7 separate regions of the Homo sapiens genome follow, and regions 1, 2, 3, 5, 6 and 7 are each linked to region 4. Evidence: promoter capture Hi-C in 16 types of primary human blood cells and fetal thymus (Javierre and others, 2016). All regions are on one chromosome and are shown on one strand. The core of a region is centred on a gene start or on the middle of the fragment in contact, and the rest is flanking DNA. Distances in the headings are between cores, read along the strand shown.

Evidence for each region. The method cuts DNA at HindIII sites, captures the fragments that hold promoters and counts their contacts. A CHiCAGO score of 5 or more calls a contact.
Region 1: a contact is called between a fragment that was not itself captured here and the fragment with the promoter of UBE2N in region 4, in 4 of 17 cell types (total CD4 T cells, fetal thymus, naive CD4 T cells and 1 more). The highest score is 8.7, in total CD4 T cells.
Region 2: the fragment with the promoter of PLXNC1 here is called in contact with the fragment with the promoter of UBE2N in region 4 in 1 of 17 cell types (naive CD8 T cells); the score reaches 5.3 in naive CD8 T cells.
Region 3: a contact is called between a fragment that was not itself captured here and the fragment with the promoter of UBE2N in region 4, in 4 of 17 cell types (naive CD8 T cells, fetal thymus, naive CD4 T cells and 1 more). The highest score is 6.5, in naive CD8 T cells.
Region 5: a fragment that was not itself captured here is called in contact with the fragment with the promoter of UBE2N in region 4 in 1 of 17 cell types (activated CD4 T cells); the score reaches 5.1 in activated CD4 T cells.
Region 6: a fragment that was not itself captured here is called in contact with the fragment with the promoter of UBE2N in region 4 in 1 of 17 cell types (non-activated CD4 T cells); the score reaches 5.9 in non-activated CD4 T cells.
Region 7: a fragment that was not itself captured here is called in contact with the fragment with the promoter of UBE2N in region 4 in 4 of 17 cell types (naive CD4 T cells, total CD8 T cells, non-activated CD4 T cells and 1 more); the score reaches 8.3 in naive CD4 T cells.

The regions. Positions count from the first base shown.
Region 1 is chr12:94,121,162-94,124,572 of GRCh38, reverse strand. All of the region lies in intron 1 of LOC124902986 (a long non-coding RNA gene), which reads right to left. Among named protein-coding and RNA genes, the nearest start is that of PLXNC1, 26 kb to the left of the region's middle. The HindIII fragment of the contact is 544 bases long and covers 1,816-2,359 here.
Region 2 is chr12:94,146,890-94,150,131 of GRCh38, reverse strand. It overlaps PLXNC1 (plexin C1), which reads right to left and starts at 1,555. Exons shown (of 31, transcript NM_005761.3): 1 at 99-1,555. The coding sequence starts at 1,160. RefSeq lists silencers at 1-68, 729-968, 1,099-1,328, 1,399-1,648, 1,659-1,788 and an enhancer at 429-528. The HindIII fragment of the contact is 5,941 bases long and covers 1-3,242 here.
Region 3 is chr12:94,103,706-94,107,051 of GRCh38, reverse strand. The region is part of intron 1 of LOC124902986 (a long non-coding RNA gene); the gene reads right to left. Among named protein-coding and RNA genes, the nearest start is that of PLXNC1, 43 kb to the left of the region's middle. The HindIII fragment of the contact is 1,868 bases long and covers 1,151-3,018 here.
Region 4 is chr12:93,439,912-93,443,209 of GRCh38, reverse strand. It overlaps UBE2N (ubiquitin conjugating enzyme E2 N), which reads left to right and starts at 1,263. Exons shown (of 4, transcript NM_003348.4): 1 at 1,263-1,355. The coding sequence starts at 1,326. RefSeq lists silencers at 858-1,317, 1,398-1,607, 1,758-1,897, 1,928-2,047 and an enhancer at 728-1,365. The HindIII fragment of the contact is 12,907 bases long and covers 1-3,298 here.
Region 5 is chr12:94,078,623-94,082,043 of GRCh38, reverse strand. No RefSeq gene overlaps it. Among named protein-coding and RNA genes, the nearest start is that of PLXNC1, 68 kb to the left of the region's middle. The HindIII fragment of the contact is 1,790 bases long and covers 657-2,446 here.
Region 6 is chr12:92,907,393-92,910,585 of GRCh38, reverse strand. All of the region lies in intron 1 of EEA1 (early endosome antigen 1), which reads left to right. Among named protein-coding and RNA genes, the nearest start is that of EEA1, 20 kb to the left of the region's middle. RefSeq lists a silencer at 1,206-1,406. The HindIII fragment of the contact is 180 bases long and covers 1,265-1,444 here.
Region 7 is chr12:92,781,393-92,784,891 of GRCh38, reverse strand. EEA1 (early endosome antigen 1) reads left to right here. Exons shown (of 29, transcript NM_003566.4): 23 at 2,757-2,942. Among named protein-coding and RNA genes, the nearest start is that of PLEKHG7, 80 kb to the right of the region's middle. The HindIII fragment of the contact is 1,541 bases long and covers 1,233-2,773 here.

The sequences.
Region 1 (3,411 bases), core at 838-3,337, 680 kb before region 4:
TTATCCTCGATTCCTAGCAAATTGCCTGGCACATACCAAATGCTTAATGAATGAAATGAAACTGTACCTGTTGTAAAAAATGAATGAATAAAAGTATACCTGTTGTAAACAAATGGAATAAATGAATGTATCAGGGTTCCCATTATACCCAAGGTCACTTCCAGGCAGCATGGCATCCTCTTGCTCTACAAGATACTTCTCTTTTGAAAACACATCAGCACTTAGAAAAGTGACCCTACTCCAAACTTTGTAATTTAACACTGGATCCTCTGATAGCTTCTTCCAGGATCCTAAAGTTTGTGTGTCCCATCTCCAGAGAATGTTCAGCCACTCCTACATCACTATATACTTCCTGATTTTCATCAGGCTTACAGAGACAGGGGTGAGAAAGTAGGGTAAAGTTACTCTGATAGTAGCTGAGATATGAAAGTGGAGGAAGGGAAACTATAGAATTTGAGAATTCACTGCCCTTTTACTAAGAAACACTTCTTTTTTTTTTTGAAACTTCTAGGGTGGCAGGAAGTGCATGCCCAAACCTCAGAGTCTGGGGCAATCAACAGTACCCTAACCTCCCTGAACAGGTTCAGACACCCAGGGCTGGGTATAGGAATAGCCCAGATGTTTTTAAAGTTAAGACCTGAAGTGGAGAAAAGGAAAAAATGAAGAAAGAGCTCCAGCTCCACAGGGGATGTCCTGGGATTAGTAGGGACAACACAAACAGAGCTCAGGGAAGGAAGACAGAGAGAAAGGGGAGGGGAAGTTTTTTGTTTTCAAAGTGTAATGTAGAAAAAAAAATAGCTCTGGCTGGGCGTGGTGGCTCATGCCTGTAATCCCAGCACTTTGGGAGGCCGAGGCGGGTGGATCACTTGAGGTCAGAAGTTCGAGACCAGCCTGGCCAACATGGTGAAATCACATCTCTACTAAAAATATAAAAATTAGCCAGGTGTGGAGGTAGGTGTCTGTAATCCCAGCTACTCCTGAGGCTGAGGCATGAGAATCGCTTGAACCCGGGAGGTGGAGGATGCAGTGAGCCGAGATCGCGCCACTGCACTCCAGCCTGGGCGACAGAGTGAGACTCCACCTCCAAAAAAAAAAAAAAAACTCAAAAAAAACAAAAAACAAAAAACAAAAAACAAAAAAACCCCACAAAACTCCTCACCTTAAACTGACCAAGAAGAAGCCAGACTACTACTTCCACTTTTATGTTGTGGCTGGCAGACCACAAGGAGCCTGCTCTGGAGAGGGCGGAGAGGGAAAGCCCAGCTGCTGCTCACTCAGCCCCTTTTTGACAGAAGACTTGTCCCCAGATCAGGGATGACCAGGGAAGAGATCAGTGGACAGGGTAAATCCACAGCCATTTGATGTAGGGACATTTTAATTTGGGAAATCAAATGCAGGAAAGATATTACCTTACTGTTCATTTCAAGCATCTCACACACACCATTAAATGCCCCAAACCAGGCTACTATTGAACCTTAACCACATACAAATGACATATTTACCCAAATACCCCAACATGCTAACAATCCTTTCTGGGTTGCATGTAGCCCAAACTGCCCCTGTGTGTGAATTACAAAAGGCACACTCCCACCCCTTCTTCAAGACACTTGGCTTACTTCTGTTGGAAAATTGTTGTCATGGGCTGATTTATTAGAATAAGACACATGACTATCATCTGCCAGAAAACTATCATAATAAATATACAAACTAACTGTGTTTACTATCAATGATGGTCCTTTAGATGTGGTGCCCTTGTGCAGAAGTCAGTTTGAAATAGAGAAGTTTGAAATAGTTGTATCAAGGCCATCAAAAGCTTAACTTCCTTGTCCCAGTATCCTTATTAATGCTTTGCAAAATCATGATCCTTAATGCATTTCTCGTCTTGCTATGGTCAACTTGTGATACACTGAATGAATAAAATAGAGCGAACAGAAATGAAGGATCTGTTTGTCAGATCGGTTAAACCAGGAAGTTTCAAAAGAAAGGATTGTTAGCATGTTAGAGTATTTGGGTAAATACGTAATTTGTATGTGGTTAAGGTTCAATAGTAGCCTAGTTTGGGGCATTTAATGGTGTGTGTGAGATGCTTGAAATGAACAGTAAGGTAATATCTTTCCTGCATTTGATTTCCCAAATTAAAACGTCCCTACATCGAATGGCTGTGGATTTACCCTGAGCATCAGCTCTGAGGTTGGGAATAGACGACCTGTGTACTTCTGCCTCCTGATCATGCCTGGGGCGTTCTAATCTCATGGTCTAAAGGTCTCAAAACAGGTAAAACAGAAATGAATGTTCTCAAATTCGTGGGGGTATCTCACCAGTTATTTTGGAAATAAATATAGCTGCATGCAGACAAGCTTCCATTTGTCCAGAAGTACCTAACTAAGTGGAAGCTGCCCACACTATTACACTGGAGTTAAAGTATTCTGAGCTCCACCCACTCTCTACCCATTTTTAGCATAGTGTGATGGAGGCAAGCAGACCACGAGAACCCAGTGGAAATGTCACCAAGTGACCAGATCGCAGGCCTGTTTGCAGGTGGTGTCTGACTGCTGGTCACCAGATCCCTCCCACCATAAATACAAAAGTTCCTTGTCAAAATTCTTTCACACAAGTTCTTATGCTTTAAACTCACAAAAGTAGGACAGGGCTCCTATCTCTCCATTTTACAGAATGGGAAACAGGCTCAGAGAGGCCAGTGTGTAGGAAAGTCAGGAACCAGAATATGGGTCTCTTGATTCTTTGGTCCAACATTCCATGAGTCTCAGTTTTTAGCACTGAGATCATGTGGGGGAACTTTGAAAAATGTGGATGCCCAGGCTCAATCCCAGCTCCTCAAGAGATAGAACCTGGAATGTGTATTTTTCTTTCTTTCTTTTTTTTTTTGAGATGGAGTCTCACTCTTGTCGCCCAGGCTGGAGTGCAGTGGCGTGATCTTGATTCATTGCAACCTCCACTTCCCAGGTTCAAGCAATTCTCCTACCTTAGCCTCCCAAGTAGCTGAGATTACAGGTGCCCACCACCACAACTGGCTAGTTTTTGTATTTTTAGTAGAGACGGGGTTTCACCATGTTGGCCAGGCTGGTCTGTAACTCCTAACCTCAAGTGATCACCTGCCTGGGCCTCCCAAAGTGCTGGGATTACAGGCGTGAGCCACCGCACCCAGCCTGGAATGTGTATTTTCTTTAAAGTGCCATGAGGGCTAGGCGTGGTGGCTCATGCCTATGAGACCAGCACTTTGGGAGGCTGAGGCAGGAGGATCACTTGAGCCCAGGAGTTCGACACCAGCCTGGGCAAGATGATGAAACCCTGTCTCCACCAAGGAAAAAAAAAAAAAAAAAAAGGGTGGGCATGGTGGTCCACGCCTGTAGTCCCAGCTACTCAAGAGGCTGAGGTGGGAGGACTGCTTGA
Region 2 (3,242 bases), core at 306-2,805, 710 kb before region 4:
CCCCGCCCCGCCGCTCGCCCCCAGCTCGTTCTGCCTCGGCGGCGGCGGCGGCTCCCCGGCAGCAGCGCTCTCCGCGGCGCCCCGGGGGCAGGACTTACGCAGTGGCTCTCGGCCGTCTTGAAGTCCCAGCTGACCCTCTTGGCGCGCGCCTGGATCTCACTCATTCTGAAGAGGCAGAGCGCCGTGGTGGTGGGGGAGCGCCGCTCCTGGCCCTCTCCAGCGGCCGCGCTGAACACTCCCGCCCAGACGTCCAGGGCCTCCACTAGGCTGGAGGAGAGGAGCAGGCGGCGGCCGTCGGGGTGGCCGTGGCCGCAGTCGAGGGATGCCTGGCCCTGGAACAGCACCTCGGTGCTCTGCGCGATGCGCGCCATGCTGGGCCAGCCGGTGGCAGCGCCGCTCGTGTAGTTGTAGGGGTAGTAGGGGAAGTAGATGCTGCCGTTCCAGAGAAAGGCGTCCACGAAGTGCAGGCTGCCCGCGCCCTCGCACAGCTTGAGGCGCCCCAGCTCCTGCGTGGCCAGGCTGCGCCCCTCCGTGTCCTTGAGCGCGATGGCCGTGTCGTGGTCGGATGCCGCGGGGTTGCAGCGGCTCGCCGTCTCCGGCTCAGGCAGCACGTAGGTGGCGGCCACCGCCAGGTACCAGCGGTTGTTCCGGCCCGCGCGGTACACCACGCCGGCCGTCGAGCCCTGCGGGTGGCACGACACCACCTCGGTGCCGTTGCGCAGGGAGTTGCGGCTCAGGTTGCCCAGGGGCCGCACCTCGCAGGCGCCCCGGTCGAAGGTCCAGCCGGTGAGCAGCAGCCCCCCGAGGCCGGCCGCCCCCTCGCGGTAGGGCAGCAGCAGCTTGCTGAAGCTGCTCCCGGGCCGGGGCCGCGCGGGGGGCGCCAGCGAGACCGGCTCTGTGCAGTTGCCCGCTTGGTCCCGGTACAGGCGCGAGAGGCTGTGCTCCAGGCTGTAGTCCAGCTGGTCCAGGCAGCTGCCGCTCGCCACAAACACGCCGTCCTCCTGGCTCGCCGCGATGGCTCCGATGGCTTGCTCCGACCGCCACACGGGCTCGTCCGCGCCCCGGCCGGGAGCCGCCAGTGCCAGCAGATAGGCGAGCAGGGGCAGTGGCGCTGCGGGGCGCGGGGGGCGCGGCGGCGCCTTCCTCCGGGAGACCTCCATGGGGCTGGGGGGGCCGCCCCCGGGCAGGGCGCGCGGCGGCGACGGCGGCTCAGGCGCGCGGCAACGGAGACGCGGGCGGCGGCGGCGGCGGTTCCTGCGCGCGCTCGGGCTCCCGCGGCCGCCCCATCCCCGCAGCTCGCCCAGGAAGGAGAGCGGGGAGGGCGGCGCGCGGCAGGCTCGCTCCGGCAGCCTGTGCAGCGGCGGTGGCGGCAGCAAGCCCTGCGCGCTCCGGCACCGTTTCCTCCTCGCCCTCCTTCGCCGGAGAGTTCCTGTGTGCAGCGCTGGCGCTCGCGGGGAGGCGCGGAGGGGAAGGGAGGGGACGGGCGGAGAGGAGCGAGGCGGGCGGGGAGGGCTGGAGAGGTTGGGTGCGCTTGTGCGTTTCACTTTCCCATTGTGAAAGTGGGATGCAACTGGCCCCCTTCCTCATCCTCTCTTCCTCCTCCGCCCTCCGCCTCCTGCCCGCCCGCCCGCCCTCCCTCCACGCCCATCTCCCCTCCCCTCTTGATTCGGTGAGATAGGGAGGAGGGAGGTCTCGTAATTTGGGTTACTGTGTAGGTGGCCTCTTTCATCTATTCATAACAAAGCTCAGCCGCCCGCCGCGGCCGCCGCGGCCGCCACCATCGCCCCCTTGGCTCGCCTGGGGCTCCCGGGGCGCGCTAACGGCGCACGGAGCGGGCTCCCGCGCCCGTCCGCCCGCGGTGCTGCTCCAACGCCCGGTTTTGTTTACGACAGCAGCCGGGTCGGGGATACGCCAGGCGCGCGGAGCGAGGATCCAGGGTGCGAAGGGGTTGCAGCTGAGGCCCCGGGCTCGGGCCACAGGGCTGCTGCGAGAGCGGCTGACAGGTGTGGAGCGGCGAGAGGGAGGCCCCGGGGAGGCGCGCGGGAGACATGGCCGAGCCGGAGACTCCGGGGACCAAGGCGCCCCTGTGACAGGGTGTGGGTTTCCCCGGGTCGGATGAGTGAGGTGGCAGAAAGGCAGGCGCCACACTCTCGTTCTGGACAATCCCCAGGGCCGGAGCGCCCATATTTGCAAAGGTTCTCTAATCTCCCTTGGCAACAGAGTCCCAGGCTCTCAAGCCTAGCACTTGGAAAGTTCTGCTCACCATCTAACCTAATGAGCGGGGCTAACATTTACTGAGCACTTACTACGTGCCGGGTGCGCTTGTGAACTCACCACATGGGTTAAGACTCATAATTCTCATAACAGCCCTATTAATTAGTGACTGTTATTGTCATCCCTACTTAGTAGTCCAGGAGAATGGTTATAGAAAGGTTGTGGAACGTGCTGGCATTCTACTGCTGGTAGATATCAGAGCCGAGATTCGAATCCATATCTAGCCCCAGGGCCTCTTACATACCTGGCTCTAGTTAAGTGCCACCTGTGGCCATTGCCATAATCCCCCAGAGATCATTCTCTGTAGTGAGACTGAAAAGTTCCTCAAGTTAAATGCACCAACCAGCCCCCGCCCTGCTTTCTACTATTAGACCCAAGTCCCCGTATTTCCCTCGAGGCTCTCCATCTGTCTCATCATTACCCACTTTTATCCTTTGGACCCCCTGAGGTCTCACCACCTCACCCAGAGGGTGAATAACAGCTGGGTTGCCCCCACAGCCGCCAAGAATTTCTGAAGCACAGGGAATCATTGCCCACTGGGGAATAGGTTCATGATTTCTCGGAATGGGGCTTCCCAGAGGATGCACAAATGCCTCCCAGCTTCCCGGGGCAGCTGCGGGCACCATCAGCACCCTTACAGTCTGGCAGATGAGCCAGGGGGTGCATAGGAGTGGAGGGTGCTGAGGACCTCTATGGATCGTTGGGAAATGATCTCTGTTCCTTCCCAGGCTATTTCCAGACCCCAGGCCCCAGGGAGGGCAATTGGCTGCTATCCCCTTTCTTCCTTCCCTCCAAGTTCCCCAGCTCGAGATGCTGTTTTGGGAAGGGAAAGGAATGAGGTGGCTTTTGTCCCATGCTGAGTCCTGCCGAAGGTTGCAGGTTTCAAACTTCTCCAACAGTGCTTCAAGTTCTCCCCAGTGCTGAGGGATATGGCAGGAGTTCTGGAAGGCTTAAGGAAAGAAGGGTGA
Region 3 (3,346 bases), core at 835-3,334, 660 kb before region 4:
TGTTGCCTGTGGTGTAGTCTATGCTTTTGGTGCCTAAGAGGGGATTGGCCTGGGAGTAGCCAGCAGGTATTCTTGTTCCTTCTTGTAGCTTCCACTATCCATTTAGGATAGTCCTCCCCTGCCCTACTCCACTCTCAGGGATCAACTACTCCTTATCTTCTGCTTTCTAATACCACTATTAATAATAACAGTAAATAACAACGATACCACCATCATTCAGCAAATATGTATCATGTGCCTAGTTTGTACCTGGTGTTATTACAGGCACTTGGGATGTACCAGTCAATTCAACTAAGACCTTGCTGCATCTAGCTGGGGAGACAAGCAATGAGTGAATAGACAAATATATAATACCAGGTATGGTTCCATGAAGAAAATCAAAGCAGTCAGGGGATAAGGGGTGATTGGGGGGCTACTTTAGATAGAATGGCAGGTGAGGCTCTCTAAAAGAGGGGACATTTGAGCCAAGACTTTAGTGCATGATCGAGATTTGCCGAGTGCCAACTATTTGCACTGTTGCAGGGCTTAGGGATACTTCAGTGAGCAAAAGAAAAGCATTCTAATTAGGCACGGCAGACAATAGAAAGCACATAAATAAAACCCTGAGCATGGCCACAGTGGGAAGTGCAAGAAAGCAGGGAAGAGGGCAAGAAGCCCTTGGGGATGGGGCAAGGGTGGTTCAAATTGAAACTGAGGAGATCAAGGAAGGTCTCACTGAGGAGGTGACACTGAGCAAAGTCCTGAAGGAAGGGAGGGAATGACCCACAAGGCCAACTAGGATAAGAGTGTTGCTGGTAGAGGAATGTGTTTGGTGAATAGCATTGAGGTCAGGGTGGCTGGAGCAGAGGGAACCAAGGGAAAGGTAAGTGTCAGGCCAGATTGTGCATGACCACATGGTCCTAGTTAAGGACTTCGGCTTCCACTTTGGGTGAGATGGAAGGCGACCAGGGGGTTCTAAACAGAGACATGTCATTATCTGACTTATAAAATAGTAACCATAATCCTCTTGGTAGCTGTCATTTGTTAATGCTACTATGTGCCGGTCACTTGAATGTCATCTCAGGGAATCCTCTATAAGGTGTTCTTAGGGAGGCATTACTATTATTTCCATGGCACATACTATGATGTGAATATTTGTCTCCTCCAAGCTTATGTTGAAACTGAATCCCCAGCATGGCAGTATTGAGAGGTGGAGCCTTGAGGTGATTGGGTCATGAGGGCTTGGGCTTCATGAATGGATTAATTTATATATGGGTTAATGGATTAATGGGTTATCCAGGGAGTGGGACGGTGGCTTTATAAGAAGAGGAAGAGGGACCTGAGCTAGCATGCTCAGCCCCCTGGCCCTGTGCTGCTGTGCACCATCTTGGAACTCTGCAGAGAGCTCCCAGCAGCAAGGACGCCCTCAGCAAATGTGGCCCCTCGACCTTGGACTTCTCAGCCTTCATAACTGTAAGAATAAATTCCTTCTATTTATAAATCACCCAGTTTCAGGTATTCTGTTATAAGCAACAGAAAATGGACTAAGACAGTACAGATGAGCTAACTGAGGCAAAGAATAATTGAGGACATTTCCCCAAAGTTGCACCATTTCTCCACACTGGATTCTTATCCCCTAACCCCATTTGGGCCCTCAACACAGCTCAGTGATCCTTTGGCCCGTTGACCGCCATCCTCCCCATGCCTCCATCCCCACAGAGAAACCCCATCCCCACCCCAGCTTCTTCTTGGCCTCGTGGTCCAGCCCTACACTTGTAAACATCGGTGCACCGCTGGTCTTCAGCACCTAGGCTCCCCTTCCTTCTCTGAGAGCCTCACCCTCCCTACCTATCCCCTCCACTTCTGCCACAATCTGGGTTCAGCAGGCACCACATGGCTGCCCGGCTCAGCCATGTTTTTCAGTCACGTGTGTAGGTTTGCACCAATGCAATGGGAGAGGAAGGGCTGTGTGAATCTCTAATTCCTGCCCTATTTTTTTCCTTTTTTCACAGCCACATTGCTAAAGAACAATCCCCACTTCCTTGCCTTCTGTACATTCCCAGGCTGCAGTCTGGCTCCCTCCTTCCTCATCCTACTGAAAGGAGCCCTGCTGAGCCCACCATTGATCTGCTGGTGACTAGGTGTCAGGCATGTGCACAGACTTTTTCCATTTGAACTGCTCCAAGGCTGGCTGACGGCCACCCCCTCGGACTTCTGTCCACCCAACACCCAGTCAACCATTCTGGTGGCTCTTTCTCAGTCTCTTAGGTCCCCCAGCGCCCACAATTGGTACTTTTTTTCTGAGGCAGAGTCTCACTATGTCACTCAGGCTGGAGTGCAGTGGCACGATCTTGGCTCACCGCAACCTTCACTTCCTGGGTTCAAGTGATTCTCCTGCCTCAGCCTCCCAAGTAGCTGGGATTACAGGCACGTGCCACCATGCCCAGCTAATTTTTGTATATTTAGTAGAGACAGGGTTTCACCATGTTTGCCAGGCTTGTCTCTAACTCCTGACCTCACATGATTGCCTGCCTGGGCCTCCCAAAGTGCTGGGATTACAGGCGTGAGCCACCGCACCTGGCCAAAACTGGTACATTTGAAGTTCTGTTCCTGACCATCTTCCTATTCTGCCAGCATCATCCCATTACTTCATGGACTCATGTACACTTAACGTTGTATTTTTAGCACCAATGTACCTCCTACATTTTAGTCTTTCTAACTGTCTATGTGACATTCCACTTGGATACCCCACAGATGTCTGGACTCTCATGACCCAATCTGAGTCAATCCTCCCCGAACTCACCTCCCCACGGTGATTCCAGCTCATCCTCTGCCCTCCTTCCTTTCCACCACCCCTGTCTGATTACTCAGTTCCGTAGTTTCCATCTGCCTCAAAGAGTGCCACACCCGCTCCCTGTTCTCATTGCCAGTGCCTTGCTTGATTTTATCAGCCACTCCTGCCTGGACTACTACAGTGACCTACTTACAAGTCTTCTTATTTCTTGCTTGGTGGTTATCACAAAGATCACTTTGGAAGCTTCTTGAAAGTGCAGATTCTCAGGCTCTACCCCCAGAGAGTCTGATTTGGTAAGACCAAGGTACAATCCAGGCATGTGGGTTTTTAATAAGCTCACCGCTGGAATCATCCAGTGCAGATGGTCCCCAGACCACTCTGTAAAAACCACATGACTTGTCCTCTTCTTATTCCAGTCCATTAACTACATGATTAATTACTAAAGCTATTACTACCTAACATTTTTGGAACACTTATTATATCCCAAGGCTGTGTTGAACTTTCTATATGCCTATGGGCCACTAACATAACAACTCTATGTTTTAACTATAATTATGATTCCATTTTACCTTT
Region 4 (3,298 bases), core at 14-2,513:
TTAAGAAGGCTTCCCTGAGTTCTCAAGCAGTTAATGCCTCTCTGCTAAAATAGCACCTTGGAGGAACCTGTATTACAGACAGCCCTTAACACATTGGATTGTAACTAATTGTTTACTGGTCTCTCTTCTCCATTGGAATCTAAGTTCCTGGAAGGCACGGTCAGTCTTGTCTTCATTTATTCACCATCTACTGTCTGTTAGTGTGCTAGGAAACACTGTGGTTAAGTAGTTAAGGGCCAGGTCTTGGCGGATCTGCCTGGGGACAAAACAGCTCCTTGGAAAAGGTTAACTATCTAAGCCTCATTTGTAAAATGGAAACAACACCTCCTCACGATTGCTGTGAAGATGAAGTAAAGTGCTTGCAAACAGTCCATCACACAGCAAACCATCCGTCATCAGGATAAAACGCTTCCCCAACAATTCAATTTTCGGGCACCCCCACTCTAATTCTCTCATAGGACCTCGCACTCTATAGGTAATCTCTGCTTTACGGATTACTCTGGGTTCTTTAAACCTCTCCTTGGTCATTCGTCCTGTTAACAATTCTGAGTCTCAACCTTTAGGTCTAGGCGTTCAGAACCATTCTTCCCGCCTCCAACTCGCTCCAAACCCTTTTCCTTCAGCCTACCCTGGGCCTAGGGGCGTGTCAGAGGTCCGATTTATACAATTTAAACATCAAAACTCCCCCAACAGCGTGTGAGTAACTGGAGAGACCCCCAGTCAGAGCTTTGCCACCGAGTTTCGGTCTTGCCCTCCCTTTGAGGAAGGAGCAAGACGATGAGCCCCACCTCAGTCGTTCACTGCAGAGCCAGCAGGGAACGCGCGCAATGCAGGCTGAGCTGAAAGAACGAACGCGTGAGCTGAAAGAACGAACGCGTGAATGAATGAATGGGATACGTCGTAGGCCAGGCCTCTGTTACGTCGTCCACCGGCGCGGGCGTGGCCACGGTTAAGAGAGACGCGCGCGCAGTCGCGCGCGGGTCGTGCCGTACCACCGTCGCGGGCAGGCTCGGCCACGAGCGCCAGAGCCCCGCGCCTCCCCTCGCGGCCTGTCCCAAGTCCCTGCCCCGCAACAGAGCGTCACTTCCGCCATCCCCGGCAGCGGTTGGGGCGGGGCGCACGGGGGAGGGGGCCAGGTCGGAGGGAAGCCCGCCCGTGCCCGAGCCCGCGCCCGAGCAGGGACTACATTTCCCGAGGGGCCTCGGCGGCGGCTGCGGCGACGGGCGCGGCAACGTCCCCCGGAAGTGGAGCCCGGGACTTCCACTCGTGCGTGAGGCGAGAGGAGCCGGAGACGAGACCAGAGGCCGAACTCGGGTTCTGACAAGATGGCCGGGCTGCCCCGCAGGATCATCAAGGTAACCGCCCAGGCCGGCCTCCAGCTCTTCGCTCTGCTCTCGTCGGCTCAGCTGGGCAGGCAGCGCGGCCTCTCGCCTCCTTCGGCCCGCGGCCCGCTCTGGGAGGCCCGAGGCGGCGCGGAGAGGGGTTGGCCGCGGCGGCGAGGGAAGTCGGGTGCTGAGGAGGGGGCGCCGGGGAGACTTCCGGCCGCGGCGGGGCAGCCGGACAGCGGGGACCCGGGGCTTCCAGGCGGCTGCCCGGCGGGCCAGGGAGTGCTGTCCCACGCCCCGGCGGAGGGTGGGGCGGCAAGGCTGGGGGTCTCTGGGCTTGGGCGCGGGCCTCCATAGCTTCTGAGACCACCCCCCCGCCGGAGGCCGCGGGCGCGCGGGAATCGCGGCGGGGCTCGGGCGCCTGGTGGGGATTGTGGCCCGACAAGGTCCCTCGGCAGCCAAGCCCCTCTTCTCCGCCCCGACGGGGCCGCGGAGGTGCGGCAACCGCGGGTGCAGAATGAATGAACCGGGAGGGTCAGGCCGGGCGGGGCCCTGCGCCCCGGGAAGTGGCTCTGGGAGGCCCGCGCGTCCTGCCGCGGTCAGCACATGCTCGCCCCTGGTTGCCGCGGCTGCCTGGGTCCCGGGACGTGGGGGCCCCGCGCCCCGCTGCCCTTGCTTCCGCGATCTCTCTCTTCTGAATACGTTTCCGCTCGTTTATCTCTGCGAAGTGATTTTACTCTGGTTGGCAAACTCTTTCAGAGCTGTTCCGAGGAAATAGTTTTAACACAAGGCTGGGGGAGGGCCGCAGTTATGGGGGATTCTCTTTCTCTCTCCTCTTCTCTCCTCTCCTCTCTTTTTCGTAGATATGAGGCCTCGCTATAGTGCCCAGGCGGCTTCCAAAACTCCTGGCTTCAGAGATCTTCCTACCTTGGCCTCTGTGGGGGATCTCGTGAAATCTTTTGCCCCTCAATTTTGTGCGTTTTAATTATTAATTGGCTGTTTATGAATACTGTGTTTTGACAAGTATGTATGGAACCATGACATTTTCGATTCTTTGATTTTGTAAAGTCTTAAGGAAATATCGACAAGTCTTCAGACGTGAGATATTCCTTGTCATCACAACAACTAAACCTTAAATTTTTGTGTCGGTTTTTATGAAGGAAATTAGTTGCACATTTATGTGACTAAATGCGCCAGTTAAAGTGACTCAATTGCAGCATCATTTTGCTTGATATAACCTGGTGAACGTGTATGTTAATCTTGCTCATTCTTGTGAAATCTGTGGGGAGATGCATACTAAGTGGAAGACCTGTTAGGCTTCGAGGATGATGTACTGTATACTGCTTCATCCAATTGCATTTAAATATATCTGAGATGAGGGAGATGTCACTGACCTAAGGGTGCTGATGTAGAGAAATAAGACGTTTTTGTATGGTAGAAATTCTTAGAAATGAGAGAAGTAGAACAGATTGTCAGGGAGCACTGGAGTCTAATAATGTGAATCTTCATAGTCCGAAATTTGTTGTGTGTGGATTTATCTAGGATTCTGTCCAAGGAGTTTTAATTGTCATATGTATTGGCAGGTCCGTACAACGTGGTTTTAGTTATAATGCAGTCACATGGTCCCCAAAGGTCATGTTTATTGAGGCCCCAGTTGAAAAATGAATAGGGAGTGATAGAGCCATACATCAAATATCCTTGTTTTCGTTGTTACTTAGGTTATTGACTAAGTACATAATGCAAGTTGACATTCATGATAATTCTCTGAAATACATAGTGAACTAAACATTTAACACGCATTTTTCTATTTTTGATTATGAAGATATGCCCAGTAATATGAAAGCCTTGGATGAAAAAATAAATTCTGTGGAACCTTGTTTATAAATTTACAGAAATGGTTTAAGGCAATAAGTTGAAGTCCTCATGATTCAATCCATTTGGCACACAGTAATTTACACTGGGCATTTACATTT
Region 5 (3,421 bases), core at 302-2,801, 640 kb before region 4:
CAAAAGGGAAGATATCAGAAAGTGATTCCAGAGGCAGTGTGTATGGTTAGTACTCCTTACCGATGGGGTTAGCTATCCTTCCATCGACATGCTTAGTAACTGCTGTTTAATTGCTATTCTGTCCCAGGCAGTAAGTAAGCAACAAAGAGACAATAGCAAGCAAGTAGACATAGTTCTTTTTCTTCTAGAGTTGCTGTCTAGAGGGAAGACAGACAAGTAAATTAGCTGTAAGTATAGACTTGATGTCCAAGCCCAAAAGAATAATTAATACCTGTGTCCCCTAACCAGCCATGTATTTGACCAAGTGCCATCTGATTTGCCTTGTCACAGTTTGTTTCTCAGTGGAAACATGAGCAGTGTGCATCTTAATCCTCTGCTTAGAAACAGAAATCTGAATGTGAGGAAGACATGGGGCTAAGAGTGGCCTCTTAAAAATTAGCATTAACATAACTGGCAAAGAACTAAGAAGACCTGGGTTCCCATCTTGTCTCTGCCATTTTACAGCTGTAGGAGCTTTGGCAGGCTGCTTGCCTCTCTGAACGTCAGCTCCTTTTCTATAAGTAAGAGTTTCAGCCCATCTTCAGGACTGTTATGATGAATATTATGTTTGTGACAGTGGTTATTGGCATTACGTGTAACACTGAGAAAAGCAAGCTTTCTCTACTCCCAAAGTGAGTTCGAAATAAAGGAAAAAATTGGGTTTTTTTTGTGACAAAGCATTGTGACCTGGAGATTTCTCTACAAGTGGTAGCTTTACTTTTATGATTTCAGTGCCTCTAACACATATTAAAATTATGTTTTGTACACAAAGAGTGAACCCTAATGTAAACTATGGACTGTAAATAATAATAATGTATTGGTTCATCAGTTTTAATAAATGTACCACATTTGGACATGCAAGAGTTAATAACAGGGGAAATTTTGGTGTGTGGGGGGGGGTGGGGTGCATGGAAAAGAGGAATATGGGACTCTGTTCTTTCTGCTTAATTTTTCTGTATACCTAAAACTACTCAAAAATATAGTCTATTAATTAATAGACTATAAAAAATAAAAAAAAAATTTCACTAGTGTTAGCAAACTCTGTTAAATTTATAATCTGCAAAAAAGTATGTTTAGTTAAATAAATTGAACTTGTTTACCTTGTTAGTCAGCTAAGAGCCTCTTTTGTTCAGATAGAACAGAAGTGAGCTTTGGCCCAGCCATCTCTAAACAGTTATAAATTAGCAATCAGTGGAGTCAGGGGCTGGATGAGAGAGGTTTCTGATACTTGGCAACAGATGGTACTGCCTTTTGTGACCTGACGTGGAAATAGAACAGGTGTCAGTTTCCCCCCCAACATCAGAGTTTCATTGTAACTTCACCTAGCCTAGTAAGGACGGTCAGTGTTTGAGAACTTGTTTTTCTCCTGAAGTCTTGTTCCTATCTTCAAAATATGCATGTTACGTAAAACAAAGCAATGTTTTCCTTTACTTTGAACTCACTTTGGGAATAGAGAAGCCTTGCTTTTCTCATATAGGGTAAAGGGAGATGAAGAGGGAAAGTTGTTCTTAGTGTTTCCCTCAGGATATAAACTTGGTTACAATGTTTTTGGCTTTTTGTTTTTTTTTGGTTACAATATTGTTGGAGTGTTTTTTCAATGCTTTCAGCTGCTGAGATGAGTTAATAAAAAAGAGATTACTGTGTAATGCCAAATCTCAATTGCCTGAAACTAACTTCCTTTTGAGCCAAGGCATAGGCAAAGTGAAGATTAAACTGTACAGTTTTGGGTAGGGATCAAAATAAAGTTCGGTATCACCAGAAGAAGCAGGAATGTAAAATCTGTGAGTCCCTAAGAAATCATCAGAAAAGGCTCCCCCATTAAACTTTATAAATTGCGCAATGTAGAGAGAGAGCAACAAAAGGAGACCCTCTTTCTCTCTCCACCCGTATTTTATTTTCAATGTCTCCTTATTGATCTCACTTCCCTTTCCTACCCATCCTCCCACACTTCATGTGCCAGGGCAGCTTGTTCAGAGCAAAGCCAGCTGAAAGCTATCTCCTGGTGGTGTCTTCAGTTAAAAGGAATATTTTGGTCTAGCACACTTATTGCATGACAAGATCAGGGACTCTAGCAGACTACTCCATTACCTGAAAGCACGCCACCCAAATCCTCCTCTGGGGCCTCTGACTCTCCCTCTCTCTTACACAGTTGATTCTCATTATGTGTAGTAGTTGCATTTTATAAAGTTACTGCCAACACTAATTAGCGAATATGGGATCATTGCACCTAGAGGAAATACAGGGTTATTTCCGGTGAGGCTCTGTTCACAACATTTTCATCAACAGATCGGCACATAATCCTATTTTATGCATATTTCTGTCTAGAGATACCTTATTTACCATATACTCTTGATTCATTAGCATTAAACTCCCAACCAATGGCACTAACTCATGCCTGAAAGAAGCTTATTGAATGCCCATATTTTCTCCATAAGGCACAGCTTTTTGGGCTTAGGAACACTAGACAGCACTTCGGCATTTTGCTTCAGGCAATTTTAAACAGCGAAATCACCAACGAAATGCACAAACGTGAAAAATGTGACGCTAAATATTCTGCGAAAAGGACACATTTATAGTATGAGAGTTGAAACAGGAAGGCAGAGCATTGCCTTGTTTAACCTCAGCTGGGGACAAGTGTATCAGGAGGATCCAGTTTTTTGACACTCTGAACAGGTGCCCATCCAGGAATGACCATGAAAGCACCGTGATTATTGATTTTAGGGTCACAAATGCATTTTAGTGAGTAGGCAAATTTGCAAATACAAAATCTGTGAACAAAGAAGATAGACTCTACTTTAATCCTTTCTTTCCCCACCCACCCCATTCCTCTTCATCAGCAACATTTCAACAATCTCAAGTGTTTGTTAAAACACAAAAACAGCAAAACACTATCTCCCTTTACCTCCTGCTCCCCTCCAATTACTGTCTTATCTCTGTGTCTCCTTAGACAGCATTCTTGCCAGAGGACATCATGCCTCCACCTTGAACTCCTCACTGTCCCCGGGTGGTCTCACCCATTCCCATGGTTTCAAATAGACGAACTATGGGCCAATGACTCAAATCTCAAGTCTTCATCTTGAACTCAAGGCTCATATCTAGCTGCTAACTGCGCATGTCCACTTGAAGGTCCCCACAGGCCTTCAATGTGTCCACATCAAGGTGTCAAAAGCTGAGCTCATTACCTGCCTCTCAAACTTCTGCTTCCTGGATTTCCTGAATTAGTGAGTGGTACCACCTTTCATCCAAGTTAGAAACCTGGAAATGAGATTTTTTTCCTCCCTTTCTCACCTGATCACAGAGTCTGCAGGTCTGCCATTCTAACATCTGTCCATGCCTAATCATTCCCCACTGCCAGTACCTTGACTCTGTCTTCTTTTATCTT
Region 6 (3,193 bases), core at 105-2,604, 530 kb after region 4:
AAAAAAATAATGGACAAACCACAGTAATTTCTCCTATGTTATCTTCTAGGGTTTATAGTTTTGTGTTTTACATTTAGGTTTGTGATCCATTTTGAGTTTATTTATTTATTTTTTTTTGAGATGGAGTCTTGCTCTGTCGCCCAGGCTGTAGTGCAGTGGCATGATCTTGGCTCACTGCAACCTCCGCCTCCCGAGTTCAAGCGATTCTCCTGCCTCAGCTTCCTGGGTAGCTGGGATTACAGGTGCGCACCACCATGCCCGGCTAATTTTTGTATTTTTAGTAGAGATGGGTTTCACCATGTCGGTCAGGCTGGTCTTGAACTCCTGACCTCGTGATCTGCCCATCTCGGCCTCCCAAAGTGCTGGGATTATAGGTGTGAGCCACCGCGCCTGACCTTGAGTTAATTTTTTAAAATTAAAATTTAATTAATTTATTTATTTTTGAGATGGAATCTTGCTCTGTTGCCGAGGCTGGAGTGCAGTGGCGTGATCTTGGCTCACTGCAACCTCCACCTTTTGGGTTCAAGTGATTCTTCTGCCTCAGCCTCTCAAGTAGCTGGGATTACAGGTGGCTGCTACCACACCTGGCTAATTTTTGTATTTTTAGCAGAGACAAGGTTTCTCCACATTGACCAGGCTGGTCTCAAACTCCTGACCTCCGGTGATCTACCCTTCTCGGTCTCCCAAAGTGCTGGGATTACAGGCGTGAGCCACTGTGCCCAACCTAAATTTATTAAGGCGGGGTCTCACCATGTTGCCCAGGCTGGTCTTGGGCTCCTGAGCTCAAGTGATCCTCCTACCTCGGCCTCCCAAAGTGCTGGGATTACAGGTGTCAGCCACCATGCTCGGCCACAAGCTTGTCTTTATAACAAAGCCATTCCCATGATAACTGATCCATGTTCACAATAATGGCAATCCATTCATGAGGGTGGAACTCCCATGACCTAGTCACCTTTTAAAGGCCTCACTTCTCAATACCATTACATTTGCAATTAAATTTCAACATGAGTTTTGGTGGGGACATTCAAGCGATAACAGCTATCTTTTCTCATTTTATTGCCTTTGTTCCATTGTCAAAGATTAGTTGACTAACTCATGGATTTTTATATTATGAACTCACGGATTTACATATGTTTAGCATGTTTCAGTCAATTACAGTCAATGTGTTTTGCTGATGTGAAAATGATCTCAGCTTTAGCTACTGGGAGTACCTTCAAGGTGACGTTTGTCATTTTGACAGGACCTTATTTGTGTTCAAAAAGCTTCCTTGCTTTTTGGCACAATAATATGTTTCAGATTTATCTTGTAAATTCCCTCTCCCATGTCTGGAATCAGCCATTTCTCTAGAAAATTCTGGTTCCTTTGAGTGGGGAGTGATGGTTAGAGACCATAGTATAAGCACGTAGGGTGCGCTTTGCTTTTGGGTTGTCTTTGCTTTTAAGCTTTTGAATGATAAGAATTATTGTTAAGAAACAGGGCTGGGCGCGGTGGCTCATGCCTGTAATCCCAGCACTTTGGGAGGCCGAGGCAGGCAGATCACAAGTCAGGAGTTCAAGACCATCCTGGCTAACACGGCGAAACCCCATCTTTACTAATTAGCTGGGTGTGGTGGTGCACGCCTGTAATCCTAGCTACTCAGGAGGCTGAGGCAGGAGAATTGCTAGAACTTGGGAGGCGGAGGTTGCAGTGAACTGAGATTGTACCACTGCACTCCAGCTTGGGTGAGAGAGCCAGACTCTGTCTCAGGAAAAAAATGAAACAAAAACCCAAATGATAATTCAAATTTAAGATATAAAATGGTTTTTTACTTATTTGATTCTGTATTTATATCATTTTTTCTTATACTGAATATCTTGGTTCTTAACATTAGCAAATGTTTTTTGCTAAAATATACATAAATAGCTTTAAAATTAACAATATGAATATTATGGCTAAGATTATTGAATTAATTTTACTGTTTCTTTTTTTAGCAATTTTTTTTGGCTTTGTGCTATATCCCAAAAGGATATGTAGTAGAAACTCTGCATTCTTAAATACTTAAAATAATTATTTTGTCTGTATGGTAATGCCTGCAATATAATACTTATTTAGGTTTTAAAAAAATTTTTTTTAAATTATGACAAAATATACGTAATTTAAAAGATACAATTTTTACCATTTTTAAGTGTATAATCCAGTGGCATGAAATGTATTCACGTTGTTGTACAATCATTACAACTAAACTCCATACTCATAAAACAATAACTCTTCATTCCTCCCCTCCCCTGAACCCACTGTAACCACAATTCCACTTCCTGTCACTATGAATTTAACTGTTCTAGGTACCTCATATAAGTGGAATTATACGATAGTGATCCTTTTGTGTCTGGTTTATTTCACTTAGCATAATTATTTCTAGCTTCATGTTGCAGCATGTTATCAGAATTTTCTTCCTTTTAAAGGCTGAATAATATTTCATTGTGGATGTATATACTACCTTTTGTTTATCCATTCATCCGTTGACAGACATTGGATTATTTACATGTTTTAGCTATTGTGAATAATGCTGCTATGAACATTGGTGTGCAAATATCTGTTTTAGTTCATTTAGGTTTTAATTTTTGTTTGTTTGTTTGTTTGGAGACAGTCTCACTCTGTCACCCAGGCTGGAGCGCAGTGGTGTGATCTCAGTGCACTGCAACTTCCGCCTCCTGGGTTCAAGTGATTCTCCTGCCTCAGCCTCCCAAGTAGCTGGGATAACAGGTGCCCATCACCATGCCTGGTTAATAGTTCATTTAGGTTTTAACTGAAGTTCTTGATAAATGAGGATATTATTGACTAAGCTGGAGAACATAGTGAGGAAAGTAAACTTTTTCCTAGGATGGTAAAGTGTTGAGATGAATGAAGAGTTTGGTTTGGTTACAATGCTTTGAGAAATCCATTGCTTGATTTCTTAGTAAACAACTACAAATGTGGATGTAGAGGTATAGAGTGCTATATTAGGTCTCTTTTATCGTCCAGGTGAGAGATGATTGCAACATGAATTAAGGTAGTGGCCAAGGAGATGGAGAAAGGGGGATAGATTCAAAATTTAAGTGGGCAGTTGAATTAACTTGGTGATTGGATGTGAAGGTTAAGGAATAGAGACAAGTAAGAGTGATGCCTTGGATTTAGGCAAAATGAGTGTGTGATGGTTCTATAATCTGAGATGGAG
Region 7 (3,499 bases), core at 754-3,253, 660 kb after region 4:
GATTTGCCTATTTCAAGGGGAGTAGATGGGTTAGAGATAGTCCCAACAAAACCATGGAATGGGAGAGAGGGTTCTCCGAGGGAAGAGATGCTGAGCAGAGGAAATAATATGCAATATTATTATAATCTGCAATAAGAAAGATGAAAAGAACATTTAAAATGCATGGCAGTATAAATGTTCATCTATGTCATTGAATGATGTAGATGAAAGTTCAGAGGCAGGGGAAAACATGTCTTGGCATGTTCAGAAAGGATTTCATGGAGCAGTCCAAATTTTGAGCTTGACTTTAAAAAATCAGTCACTGGGTTTTGTGAGTTTAACATTTTATAGGCTGTTATTTAAACCATGGGCTTTTTGGAAATCTTGTGGTTAGAGGTTAGGGTTGCTTTCCAGGCTCTAGCAAGCGTTGGTATTTTTAAACATTAGATCAGGATCTCTATTAACTAATTATAGTTGCTGTAGACTGTTTGAACTGGACTTTGTCAACTTTTCTCCTTTTTTATGTGAAATCACTCTCACCCTTTGTGACATATAGGTCAGTTCCCACATGTGGTATAGAGCCTTCTGTAAACCCCACTCCACAGCATCTCACACTCACTGTTTTTCTGTGCATTTGGCACATAGCGTATACTCTCCTGCCCTGTGTAGCTTCCATTTTACATGGCTGTTCTGCTTTTTGGGCGATGTACTCAACTCCCTTAAGTCAAAGACCAGCTTGTACCCTCCTGTTCTGTCTTAGCAGTGTTCTCAATTAATGGTTAGGTGCTGGATTAGTGAAGAACTAGCTGATGTTAATTCTTCCCTGAAAAAAGCCTCAAGGGGTTTAGTGTTCTACTGGCAGTCATTGAAAATTAAGATTTAATTTATATCAGAAAGACGTAACTGGGTTACTGGTAAGAAGTAAACTTTCAGGAAGCTTAAGAATCCTCATAAATAAGATCTTTATTTATTTATTTCATCTTTCTTTTTTTTTTTACTGAGTACTTGCTGTATACAAGCCTACTCAGCAAGGATCCTTTGCTAAATTACGTTTTCTGCCTCCTTTTCAAAGGAGCTGTATCTCCAGAATAAGAAAGATCAGCTTTTTCCAGATCTGATGGAAGAGATCAGTTGGATCTCTTACCCTGCTGATTCTTCGCAGTAGCAGCTGAGAGTGGCAAGGTTCCTACCATACCCATTATCTACCTGTTACCATATTTATCCCCAACTGAAGTGTCATGAGTGAAAAAGCTTCCCCTTTCCCCAACTTCTTCTTCTCAAAATACTTGGGCTTTAAAACAGTCAACAACTATGGACTATGTTAAATGACAATCACTACTTCTACGATATAGATGAGAAGAGGACAGTGTGCTTTCTCAGGATAGAGCCTCATTCTATGTTTGGCTGAATTTTCTCTTTTTGTTCACTTGATCAGGTTGTCAGCTGTGAAGTTGTTATTATTTTTATTCCATGACAAAATAATCCTTCCTATTTGTTTCAGGAAAAACTCTCTCAAATTGTGTTTTTCCCCTACTCTCACACCACAACAATCATCAACACAGAAGACTTCTGTGACCAAACATATGGGGATTTTCCCACACACACCAAGAAGCAGACACCAACTGTGTGTCTTCCAATTTAATTCTGACAGTATCTCCCTAGAGATAGTATCAAATCCCACAGATTGGGGGCTCAATCCCCAAGACTGCTCCCTACAACTCCAAACACCAATCATTAATCCAGGCTTCCAGAACTTCTGACCAACTAGCTAGTTTCAAGTTGGGGTTTTCATGACACCCTCTTTGGGTTCAGTTAGTTTGCTGAACAGCTCACAGAACTCAGGGAAAACTTACTTACATTTACTGATTTATTATAAAGGATATTACAGAGAATACAGATGAAGAGATGTGTTGGGTGATATGGGGGAAGGGGCACAGAGCTTCCGTGCCCTCCCCGGGCATGCCACCCTCCAGGCTCCGTATGTTCAGCTATCTAGAAGTTCCCCAAACCCAGTTCTCTTGGATTTTTATGGAAGCATTCTTTCACCCAGGGTATGAGGCAGGACCCTTTCAGGGAAGAGTCTTAAGACTCACAATCAGAAAATGGGGTGGGGAAGAAGATTAGAGGCCTGCCTAGGGACCAGTGGAAGAAGGGCAGGAGACGAGATTCTGTTTCCTGAGGCCTAACATACCCAACATTGTAACAAAAAACTGTAACAAAGGATGTGGGAGTTGTGATTCAGGAACCCTGGACAAAAACCACTATATCATAACACCATACTATTTATTAATATTTTTAGCATGTCAAGGGACATCATAGAACCTACCAAATGTATATGTATGCATAATGAAGCATTTAATTATATCTCTTTTAAGATTGTTTTCTTTCACACTGCCTTATGACTTTAACCATATATATGTTCTCTGAGTGTATCTGATATGGTCCCTACTTATTTGGTATTCTTTCATATCAACTAGCCAATATTGAAGATGTGATCAACATTCAGCAAATACTTTAAATATTTATTTAGTAAATAGATTATTTTTGGAGGCTTTGGAATTGCTTCCATTTTACTAAATATTTTATATTATAAATGTTTTCTATAAGCAAGAGAGTTAATATTTTAGAATTCTTTCTCTTTTACCTGTCTTACTGAAGGGTATAATATGCTATCTTTTTATAGTTTATTGCTTTCTACAATGTTTATATTAACTATGTTTCTGTTGAATTTACTAAAAACATGGCATATAATAATTTGGGAAAATTGTTTTTGTAAGTCTGTAGAAGAGAAGCTTTCTCTAGCACAGGAGGACTTGATTTCAAACAGAAATCAAATTGGAAATCAAAATAAATTGATTCAAGAACTGAAGACTGCCAAGGCTACATTGGAGCAGGATTCAGCAAAGAAAGAACAGCAATTGCAGGAGCGATGTAAAGCACTACAAGACATTCAGAAAGAAAAGGTATTGCATGTTTCTGACCTAAATCTACAATCTTAGAGTTACAGTTGTCTTAGAGATCATCCAGTCAAACCTCTTATTTAGTACAGGCATCATCCTTATTTTCAACAGCTCTCTCAGAGGGACCTCTAGTTTCTGACACTTTTGATCATTGGGATTTTAATGCTAGGAAGTACTTCTTAATGGCCTCCTTGTTATTTCTACCCTTTTTTCTTACTGCTCTTTAGTTTTACAAACAAGTCAATTTTTCACACCATAGACCCTTGGTTATTGCAGAAAAGATAATATAGTTCCTCAACTATTTCTCATATAACGTATTATCCTTTAGATGTGTGAATGAGATAATAAAAGATCTAGAAATAATTCTTAAACATGTTAAGAATTCTTAAAATTAAGAACCAGATTGTCTAAGGAGTTTATTAAGTTTCAAAGTTGAAAGCATTGGTTTACTAATATATGACCAGTACATTTTAAAAATCACTTTAAATTCTGTATGAAAGAAAAATTCAGATCCTAGGAAAGAGTTTATTTTTTGTTTTATAGTTGAAATCATATATTCC